Regions from separate parts of the Homo sapiens genome. Here all the other regions are linked to region 2. The links are contacts of gene promoters, found by promoter capture Hi-C in blood cells and fetal thymus (Javierre and others, 2016). All regions are on one chromosome and are shown on one strand. The core of a region is centred on a gene start or on the middle of the fragment in contact, and the rest is flanking DNA. Distances in the headings are between cores, read along the strand shown. Region 1 has its middle 61 kb from the start of CEP85L. Region 2 holds the start of SMPDL3A (sphingomyelin phosphodiesterase acid like 3A). Region 3 holds the start of HINT3 (histidine triad nucleotide binding protein 3). Region 4 overlaps MAN1A1 (mannosidase alpha class 1A member 1).

Evidence for each region. Contacts are between HindIII fragments. The CHiCAGO score rates a contact against its expected background, and 5 or more counts as called.
Region 1: a fragment that was not itself captured here is called in contact with the fragment with the promoter of SMPDL3A in region 2 in 1 of 17 cell types (M0 macrophages); the score reaches 7.3 in M0 macrophages.
Region 3: the fragment with the promoter of HINT3 here is called in contact with the fragment with the promoter of SMPDL3A in region 2 in 1 of 17 cell types (M0 macrophages); the score reaches 7.3 in M0 macrophages.
Region 4: a contact is called between a fragment that was not itself captured here and the fragment with the promoter of SMPDL3A in region 2, in 1 of 17 cell types (M0 macrophages). The highest score is 6.7, in M0 macrophages.

What each region holds. Positions count from the first base shown.
Region 1 is chr6:118,710,994-118,713,693 of GRCh38, forward strand. No RefSeq gene overlaps it. Among named protein-coding and RNA genes, the nearest start is that of CEP85L, 61 kb to the left of the region's middle. The HindIII fragment of the contact is 825 bases long and covers 1,018-1,842 here.
Region 2 is chr6:122,787,917-122,790,616 of GRCh38, forward strand. It overlaps SMPDL3A (sphingomyelin phosphodiesterase acid like 3A), which reads left to right and starts at 1,342. Exons shown (of 8, transcript NM_006714.5): 1 at 1,342-1,542. The coding sequence starts at 1,431. RefSeq lists enhancers at 1,152-1,653, 1,654-2,153 and a silencer at 1,368-1,662. The HindIII fragment of the contact is 3,428 bases long and covers 1-2,700 here.
Region 3 is chr6:125,955,329-125,958,028 of GRCh38, forward strand. It overlaps HINT3 (histidine triad nucleotide binding protein 3), which reads left to right and starts at 1,442. Exons shown (of 5, transcript NM_138571.5): 1 at 1,442-1,850. The coding sequence starts at 1,650. RefSeq lists enhancers at 1,455-1,554, 2,615-2,664 and a silencer at 1,725-1,944. The HindIII fragment of the contact is 9,214 bases long and covers 1-2,700 here.
Region 4 is chr6:119,308,670-119,311,369 of GRCh38, forward strand. All of the region lies in intron 2 of MAN1A1 (mannosidase alpha class 1A member 1), which reads right to left. Among named protein-coding and RNA genes, the nearest start is that of MAN1A1, 40 kb to the right of the region's middle. The HindIII fragment of the contact is 1,660 bases long and covers 617-2,276 here.

The sequences.
Region 1 (2,700 bases), core at 180-2,679, 4.1 Mb before region 2:
GTTTGAAAGAAGGAAGAGAGAGGGAAAGAAAGCAACACTGAAACACGATTCAAAAAGTGATAGAAAGATTTACCTTTATGATTGGGAAAGCCACAAAGACATGAGTACTGGGAAACACAAAAGAACACTAGTGCAGATGGAAAAATCTATTTGTTTTATTAGGAAGATGGAAAATATTATCAAGATGTCAACTCTTGGCCAGGCACAGTGGTTCACACCTGTAATCCAGCACTTTGGGAGCCCAAGGCAGATGTATCATCTGAGGTCAGGAGTTCGAGACCAGCCTGACCAACATGGTGAAACCCTGTCTCTACTAAAAAAAAAATACAAAAAAATTAGCGGGGGGGTTTGGTGGCACATGCCTGTAATCACAGCTACTTGGGAGGCTGAGGCAGGAGAATCACTTGAACCTGGGAGGCAGAGGTTGCTGTGAGCTGAGATCGCGCCATTGCACTCCAGCCTGGGCAACGAGGGCGAAACTCTGTTTCAAAAATGAAAAAAGATGTCAACTCTCATGATTTAAGCTATAAATTTGATATATGACAAAAAAATTCATAATGGTCTTGTGAACTAAGTTGATTCAAAGCACAAAGAAAAATCTGAGGGGGAAAAGTCTAATGAGGGAGGAACTAGCTCTACCAGATGCTGAAATATAAAGCTTTGATAACTGAAAGTGTATGCTAACTCATAAATAGACAAAACGGTGGAACTGAATGAAACACCGGGAAATAATTCCAAATCCATTTGGGAATTAAATATCTGATCAACATGCCACATTGCCCATAGGTCTGTTGACCTCAGCAGCATTGTCAGTCATGCAGTGTGGTCCTTCACCTCCTTCTCATTAGGAGGCTTGGAGCTAACCAGAGGTTGTGGGTTCAGGAGTAAGAAAGAACACTGGGCTTAGATGGCTAGACACCAGAGCACCAATCTTGCTCTACCACCTGTAACTTGGTGACCTTGTGTTGAGCTTTGGTTTCATTGTCTATAATATGAGGATAATGAAATCCATTGCCAAGCTTTATTGTGGGGATAAGTTTATATAATATATGAATCTACCTAACAAATATCAACTATTTAACAAAATAAACATATTCTAATTGAATAGCTTAACGGGCATCTTAACTCCAGGTTGACAGTTTCACAATTTGTCTGTCTGCAGACAGAAATTGCTTTTTAAAAATCTCAAATCCTTTTTTTTTTTTTTTTGCCATTCAACATGTAAATAAGATTTAGAAAAAAGAATTATTTTAAAGCTCAGATTTAGAGTCAATGATTTCCTTACAGAGGAAAGTCTTTATAAATAAGATCAAGTTGTTGAGTGGGTGGATGAAATCCAGCAAGAGAAGTTTCAGTTACATAGCACAGGAAAGGATCTTCTTTTTTTTTTTTTTTTTTGAGACGGAGTCTCACTCTGTTGCCCGGGCTGGAGTGCAGTGGCATGGTCTCAGCTCACTGCAAGCTCCGCCTCCCGGGTTCACGCCATTCTCCTGCCTCAGCCTCCCGAGTAGCTGAGACTACAGGCGCCTGCCACCACGCCCAGCTAATTTTTTTGTGTTTTTAGTAGAGATGGGGTTTCACCATGTTAGCCAGGATGGTCTCGATCTCCTGACCTCGTGATCCGCCCGCCTCGGCCTCCCAAAGTGTTGGGATTACAGGCGTGAGCCACCGCGCCCAGCCCAGGAAAGGATCTTTTAACTTCTGTGTTTTAAAGGAAGATGTGGAGCTTTTTAAAGATGACGCTGCACTAAGCATGAGCTGATGGAAACCTGTCCTGTGTGTAGAGAGCACCCAAGGTTCGGGTGTTGTGCCAAAATGGAGACCTTACTCTTGGACAAAAGAAGCTTGAACAATTTATGGTGAGGGTAGAAGTACAAACAAAATTCCATGTAATTTTTTAATTTCCACCTTTGGTTATATTGTACAATTCAGTGCCTAAGGGATCAAAGGATGTTGAAGAGAGTTTTGGGAAATCACATATACTCTTGGGAAACTTCATGACAAAGGGCAATCTTGGGCAGTGTTGGAAAGGGACGAAGTGGATCACTTGGTGGAAAGTGGCAGGCAGAAGAGTATGTGGATGCCTCAGAAGTGGATGTGGTTAAAGGATGGAACAATGAAGGGTTTGATGGCTGCAATAAGGCGTACAAGACAATGAGATGAGTAATAAGCTGACAGAATGCTTGCTGAATAATCCTGATTTAAATTTGTCAGGCAAGTGATGAAAAGAATGTTTGCTGCTGGCCAGGATGGTCTGACCGAGAAAGCTAGACACAAGAGACAAATAAGGCTATTTCCATTGTCTAACTAACAATGCTTAGGTCCAAGCTGGTCTGAACCTGTGAGAACAGAGACAGTGCACAGCTTTGAAAATCCTGTAGGACAAGGAATCATGGAATTGGTGATTTTTCTGGACAAAATGATAGAGGAAAAGGTTTAACAAGGTTAGGATCATAGAAAGCTGACAGGAGGATGGAGCCATTGTCAACAAAGAGAACTTCAGACCTGCTAAGCGTTTGTAAGGAGCACAAGGAGAGAAAATAAACCCAATTTTGGCTGCATTTGGCTGTGGATGACAACCAGCATAACAACCCAATCTCCATCAGAAACGGAATCAAGACTTTAAATATAATAAATTCAGAATTCTTAGCAAAAAGAATATTGTGCTGTTTCTTTTGTTATGGGGCTAAAATTGTTCCC
Region 2 (2,700 bases), core at 92-2,591:
ATTTAAATTATTAGCTTGTCATCTCCAAGAGATCAGCATCCTCATAAACGGTGAGAGAAGGAACACAGAATACAGGATCCAGCACAGTTTCGGGATTCTGGCTTCTTTGCCAGACTTATCTTTGCTTACTTCTTTGTATAGACTTACTTCTTTGCCAGACTTATCTTTGCTTACTTCTTTGTATAGACTTACTTCTTTGCCAGAAGTATATTCAAAAAAGTTCCGTGGAAGCATCAAATCAACCACCTCTACTTATGATTTCCATGCATCTCTGGAATGCATAAAGCATGATTTCAGAACATGTTCTAATTCTAAGACCCTTCTCTTCCCGGCAGTTTAAAAAAAACAAAAAACAAAACGTCGTATCTTTGAGCATTGGTTTTCAAACATCACAATCACTTTAACATGACCTGAAATGCTTGTGAAAACACAAACTGCTGGGCTCCAGCAGGTTTCTGACTCAACAGGTCTAGGGTGGTGCCTGGGAATTTGCATTTCTAACTAGAGTTCCCAGGTGGTGCTAATGTTCCCAGTTCAGAGACTTCAATTCGAGATCCACTGCAGTATCCATAACTTTTGCTGATTTCCTTCAAATCATGATACTTCAGGGCTCTCTGCATCACCTCTACTGAGGAGCCCTACCCATTAAAGCTGGGGTAGGTTGGCCCAAGAATGGAACCGGGATCGTTGAGATTTCAGCACCCCAGCATTTTTTAGTGACTGAAATAATGAAAATTCTGATCAGGCTCCTGCTTGCTTGCACATTTTAACCACTCGCTTTTTGCCCAATATTCTCCTTGTTTCCACAATATAATTATAAACTGCTGAGGTACTGCTTCCTCGTCAAGAACAAAGAGGTTAACTTCAGGGTCACAAAAATGTTTGCAGAAGGGATGAATACCTCCAAGGGCTTTGCAACCAGCTGCGGATGCCTGGACGTCTAATTGCTCAAAGGTGTTATCTGAGACTGAAGAAACAGACTTTTCCCCTGGATTCTTTGAAAATCCCCCTCTCTTATTCTCTAGCAGAATAAAAACTCCCTGCTTTTTCCTTTTTACACACGGATTTGAGAGATCTTGTTCTCCCTCCTTCTGGCTTTTACTAAATTGAATGTCTTTCTCTATCCCCAAGCACCAGTATGTCAGTGTTTGACATCAACTGCACCACTGATACACGAGTCGGAATTTGAGCTTCTACAAGTACATTCCTTCCTAGGCCAAACACTGACGCTAAGAAATACGAGAACAGATCATCGCTAAACAGCAGCTGAAGGTCAGGCGAACTGACTCGCTGCGGAATCTGCCTTTGCACGTGATCAGTCGGACGTCTACACCCGCAGCCGTCTTCTGTCTCCGCCTCACCCTCAGGCCTGACGGTCCGAGTGGAGCTGCGGGACAGCCCGAACCTCCAGGTCAGCCCCGCGGCCCTCCATGGCGCTGGTGCGCGCACTCGTCTGCTGCCTGCTGACTGCCTGGCACTGCCGCTCCGGCCTCGGGCTGCCCGTGGCGCCCGCAGGCGGCAGGAATCCTCCTCCGGCGATAGGTGAGTTGTCCGCGACCCTTCTCTTCCCAGCCGGCAAAGAGCGCGGAGCGGCGGCGCCTGCGCACAGCAGGAGAAAGTGCGTGGGGGCAGCTGCCCCCGGCAGAGGCTCGGGCTAGCGGGGCCCCTGACGCGTCCGGCGTTGACCACGGCTGGTGGGCGCGGGGAGGGCGACCAAGGGACTACAGCGTTAGGGCGTCCAGCCGGGAGGCCGGGGCTGGGCGGGGGAAATGCCCTCGCCGGTGGGGGCGCTCCAAGGGCGCGTCGGCCGGATTTCGCCAGCCTGGCTTTTGTTTACATCCTGCATCTCAGTTGTTTTGTTCCTTGGGGAAGGAAGGAAAAGCTGCGGGACTCAAGGGAAGAGGAAGCTGGGAGTCCGATGTCCAGCACAGCAAGAGGCCCCTAATCGGTCCTGAATGGAGGGGGACTGCAGTTTCCCCACCAGCTCAGGGAAGTAAATTTCAGCGTGACTCACACTATCTTCTGTCTTGCTCGACCGAGATCAGTGGCTTTTTCTGCCACTCACCCAGCCAGAGCGCGAAAGCACCCTCGGGTAGACTCACCCCTTAGTCTACCGTGGAACTCACGGGGACTTCATTTCACCTGGATGTCCACTAGGTTTCCTGCGGGCGGGACCCATTTTATTCACTCCCAGCACTTAACACAGTGCCCGTTACAGTAGTGATTCTCTTAAGTGTGCCCTGGACCGGTGGCAGCAGCCGCCGCACTTAAAATTGTTAGCATTGCAAATTTCCAGCCCATCCCAGACCTACTGAATCTGAAACGCCGGCGTTGGGCTTCCACAGTATGCTGTTTAACCCACCCTCCGCATGATTCCTTTCGGCTAAGTTTGAGACTCACTGGTCCAGAATAGATACATTTTGGTGGGAGATTGTACAATGCCATCCGAGCCTCCAGTTCCAAAAATCAAGGTGCCCTCACCTCCTCAACTCCCTTTAAAAATAATTGCACTGTTAAGAGGAAAAACAAAATTAGAGAAGTGGGGTTCTGTTTTCTTTTAGGGGAGAGTTGTCCCTGAGACTCGGTAGCAGCACCTAGTGCTGAAACCTCTTTCGCTCCCTCTGTGCTTTCTCAGGACTTGGGAGCGCTCTAGGGCAAATATCTTCTCTTTGAAGGCCAAGTCCTCACGACTCAGCTGTC
Region 3 (2,700 bases), core at 192-2,691, 3.2 Mb after region 2:
TACAAAGAGACAAATCCTACAAGAGAAATATTGAAAACCTGTTATATGAATTTGCAAGAGGATGTGCTTATGTCAGTTTGGCTAAAGAAAATTTCATGAAGGAGGTAGCATTGGAGGGGTGGCTTGGAAGGTAGAATTTGGAGTGAAGAGATGGAAACAAGAATATTTGAGAGAGAACTGTGTGAATAAAAGCAGTGATGTGAAGGTGTAGTACAGGCATGGAAATTGTGAATACTAAAATTTGGCAAAACTCTAATGTATTGATTCTGAACTCTGCTTTGGGGTGCTGAAAGGCAGTGAAGCTATTGTAGTGGTTCCCCAAACTACGGGCCAACTACAAAAAGGAATGAAAAATGTCTTGAATGTATATGTACAACAATTCAAAACACATACAACCACTTTTTATTACAACATAAATCCATTAAAAATCATTACTGAATTCCCAATTTGTTATGTATTTTCTAAATCAGCAAATACCAAGGGTGTAACTACTATAGTGAGCTAGTCCAACAAATTTTTTGGTGTTAAAAAAGGAGTGCTGTATGTCAAAAAGGTTGGTGGGTTTTGGAGTTAGACAAACCTTGATCTTAAACTCTGTCACTATTAATTAGTTGTGTGGGACTGGGCAACTCTGAGTTTGGTCCTTCATCTCTAGAGCGGTGGTTATAAAACCAACCTTGCGTTTTTTGACAATTAGAGAAATATATGGCATGTTTTAGATGCTCAGCAAGTGGGAAGTATCACAAAACGAAAAGCTGAGGTCAAATCAGAGTCCACCTTGAACACCAAGCTAAGGAACTGGTACTTTTTCTTTGAGCACATAGTTACAGAAGGTTTTGTCTGAGTGACAGGAAAATCAATAAGTAAGTTAGAAGGTGATTGCGTTGGTCTAGGTGAGGCATTATGAGGCACTGGCATTGAATTTCTGGGATATTTCAGAGTATTGACTATAGGACTCCACATCTACTTGTATATGAGGAATGTGAGATTAAAAAAAAGGTCGCTAGTTTGATCTAACTGTGCTGTTAACAACAATAAAAAGTCAACAGAGATGTAAAGGTCAGTTTTGGACATTTTGAGTTTAAACTCCTACAATTATCGTGGCTGAAAAAGCAGCAAACATGATGTCTGTTGAAAACAAGGCTTTAGGAATTTTGCTCATTCTTTAAAAACCTACGAATTTTAAAAATCAAACTTTAAAAAACTTTTTGTTTTTTTTTTTAAAAAAACGGCAGCGTAATACAATATTTGGACACGCTATACTATGGGCTTTGAAGAACGCCTGTCCAGAACACCCAACAAGCTCCATTATGTCAAACGCTCCCGCGCCTCTGTGATGTCACCACGACGCGCTGGGCGCTCTGCGACTTGGCAGACGTCGTGCGTCATTACCAACGAGGCGCAGGGGTCAGGACGACTCTCGGCAGCGCCATTGCGCGCCCTCTAGTGGCAGCCGGTTTTGAGGCCGGCCTCCGGCTTTGAAGTTCCTCACCGCGTCTCCTTCCCTCTCCCCAAAGCCTGGATCACCGCCCAGCGTCAGGCGAGGGGCGACGTCTCGAGGTAAAACGGAGGAGGTGCGGGACGCGGAGACTGCGCGGGCCCGGTAGCCCTGGAGAGGCCGAGGCTCTAGGCCGCGAGGGGCGGGTGCAATGGCGGAGGAACAGGTGAACCGCAGCGCCGGCCTGGCCCCCGACTGTGAGGCCTCGGCGACTGCAGAAACTACGGTTTCCTCAGTGGGGACCTGTGAAGCCGCTGGCAAGTCACCAGAGCCCAAGGACTACGACAGCACCTGCGTGTTCTGCCGGATCGCGGGGCGGCAGGACCCGGGCACCGAACTCCTGCACTGCGAGGTGGGCGGCGACGCGCGGCCGGGGGTGGGTGAGGACCTGGCCGCCCCTCGGAGCTCCGGCAGGGAGGCCTCGCCGTTGTGGAGCGGGTGCAGAGGATCCCGATCGCTACTCAGCTCGCAGAGGCAGGGCCGCTCTGTGTGGATGGGGCTCGGGGAAGCTGGGGATACGCCCACTACGGGCCTTTCTGCAGGGTCCGGGTGCTGATGACAGACTCACTCCTAGGGGACTGACAGGCAGTGGCTCCAGCGGTATCTTTGCTGTTCCCAGGGGCAAAGAGTGAATGACAGGGCCGAATGCTTTGGCCTATGTTTGCAGGTACCCAGGTAGTTGGTACAAATAACATTTTGTGGCCTCTGCTTTTATTACAAGGATTCTTCTCCACCTTCAAGATACTGATTTTAAATCCTGCACACTCTAATACCGATACTGATGAGAAAACTAGTAGAAAATAGGTAATGATAATTGTGGAAAGCTGTTTGTTAGATTGGCAGAAAATAGGCTGGAGGGAGTGGGTCTGAGGTCAAACTATTATTGAATTGCCTCTGAATTCCACTGTCAGTTGGGATGCGTGGACATTTTCAGAGCATGAAGACTTTGCCCAGATATTTTTAAACGGATAATCTGGCACACACTTTATTCTGTTGGTTTTACTTGTCCATATAGAAACAACTTTTTGAGAGAATTAGCTCCAAAGATTGTGTCTTTTGTAGTAAACATTCCTTTATTTTTTAAAAAATAAATATAATTCCTTCTAAGCACCTTGTTTTGGAGGTTTTTGAGCAAGATAAGGGACAGTCTGTGTCCCGATTTTACAATCTAAAGGGCGGAATGTATACAGAGGAGGTAGCCA
Region 4 (2,700 bases), core at 197-2,696, 3.5 Mb before region 2:
AATAGAAACCAATGAGCCTCTGAAAGACTAGGTATATAAAAAATCTACAGAACACCTAGAGATTATATTTGATTTTATTTGGTTTTTCCATTAAATGTACTACATTTAGTAAATTCTTCATTCCTGTAAATTTCCAAAGATACTTTATAAATTCAAAAGCTTTTGGAATATACTGAACATCAAAACAGAAAAAAAAGTTACGATAATTTGTTTCAGCTTTGTCAAAAATGATCACTTATACAATGTACCACTAGTAAAGGATCTCCTAAAGTAACCTCTGTAGTATATATTAACTTTTCCTATCTTCTTCCCTCAAGGGAAAAGCTGACACTAATTGGTTAGTTTCCTACATTTCAAAAGTTGCTGACATATTTCTCAAAATGGGTTCCTGATCCCATGGGATTTCTATGAGTTAAAGTTAGAAAAGACGAAAATGATGTGGTCAAAATGCCCTGAACAAAGCACTGGGAGGGGTTTATCCAGCAATTATAAAGAGGAACAGTCATATTGTTAACCAATTCCACCAGCTGATCACTTCTGGAAATGATTTACCACATTAAAGCTAACTGTAAGACATTGTGTGAGTGTGTGTGTACACATGCATAGAATAACTATAAGCTTCAATTTAAAAGTCACATATAAAATCAACTTGTTAACTCAGATTTACGACTTACACAAATATTTGAAACATCAAAAGGCTACCAGCTTTTAATTTTGTAGTATTAAGCCATTACCCAGCTGAGTGGCGATGAGGATAAAGTCATTTAATTTCTCTAGACCCAGTTCTCATGAGCTGGCAGGACAAGGAAGTCACTTCTAAAAGTTAACTACTAACAAGGACAGAATTGATCACCTCTCTTCACAGGCTCCTTAGGTTTCTTTTGTAGTCTTTCATTAACTTAATTAGGGTTCTAAAGCCTGACATTCCACGTAGAAGTAAAATGGGCCCAAATTTCAAATGCAGTAGTGAAACCCTCACAAAAAAAGATAAACTGAAAGCAAGCCAAAGATGTTTTCTTCCTGAATACGTATATTTGCTCCTGGTGAAAGGTAGAGCTGACACGCTGTGTGAAAGGAAACAAAGGACCAAAATTTCATAATTGCAACCCATTATTTTAACCCAGAAAATATTAAATTGGGTATAAGGCATTAAAGAAATAGTATTACTTCCCCTTGACTCCATGCTTATAAGAAAAGATTCTTTGATTTGTACTTTCTTCTTAATTGGCATCAGGGCTCATTAATTAGGCCAGGTCATTTATTGAGTATCTGCTACACTATGAAAAGATTCTAAAGGACTAAAAGGGAAGTATACAGGATGCTGTCTCATTTACTATCTCATTGATAATGTATGGAAACATAAGATACTGCCTGTTTACATACTCAGTAAATGTTTGTGAATATAGAAGAGTAAGAAAACTAATTAAATGTTGTATACAACTCTATTGTTGTTTCTAACAAATTAAGTTTAATGTCCTGATCTAATCAAGCACGCTGAAGAAAGAAATACGTTGGAATTTCCCTAGTATGCATAGACTTCATATCTTGCATATTTATTGCTAGAACTACTCTTAGCAAATACTTCCATTTGCTGAAGTTTTAAACACATAATCTTTAAATTTTTATATTAGACACATCAAAAGTCTTTGAAAATTACATGATTTTTCCAGACAGATCTCAGGAAAACTTTGGGCTTTCATTGCCCTATTTCACTGAAGCCTACAAGTTCAAGTCCCACTTATGGCCTCCTTCTATGGGTTCTTACATAAAATTTCCGTAGTTTGTAGGATGTGATGCTGGCCCAGCTGAATGAACCAGGGCCTGGTGCCCAACTCAAAGGCAGATTGCTGAGAGCTAGCCATGAGCCTCCAACGTGGGGCGCCCTGGTGTGTAGTTCTCACTAATGGATGGGATGAGTCAACCCAACCATCCACTCTACCTAGGGAAGTGTAACTGGGAAACATTCAGAGAGAACCTAGAGGCCAGAGAGTGACACAGAAACAGAGAAGTACAAATACACAGGAGAAAGGGCTGTGAAGCAGTAAAAGCCATGAGAAAGAAGACAAGAAAGGCAAGGAGAAAAAAGTTAAGAGGAGGCTGAGGTACAGATGATTTTGCCACTTGGATGGTTCCCCAGTGGAACTGTGTTAGGCCTGTACAGCAGCTATAGAACTATCAACAATGCTGTGGAGTCCTGAATGTTGGTGAATCATCTTCCCTTTTCCTCTTTGCCTGCTGAGACTGTTTGTTTACTTCCCTATGTGTACTTGTAGAAAAGCTTCTCATTTACTGAGGAGTAAGGCGTAAAAGCGGGTCACGGGCGAACGCATATGAGAAACTGGGTCCATATCTGAGCTCTGCCATCGTCAGTGTGACTCTAAGCAAGGCAATTAATCTCTCTGAGCCCACTTTCTGCACACACAAAATGTGAATAAAAACACCTCACTGGTTGTGGTGATGATTAAATAAAACAAGGCATGTAAAGAGTTTAACATGTTGCCCGACACACATTAAGTGCTCAATGCATTTTAGGCATTATAATTACTTTTATTAAAAACCTAAGAATGTCTGTGATCTTTGCAATCTAAAAGAGCTTCATAATTTTTCCTAGTATAACACATAAATAGGAGGGACAAATATATGTGAAACCAGGCAAACTTACATTGTACACAAGCTCTTTATCAATATATACATTTAAAA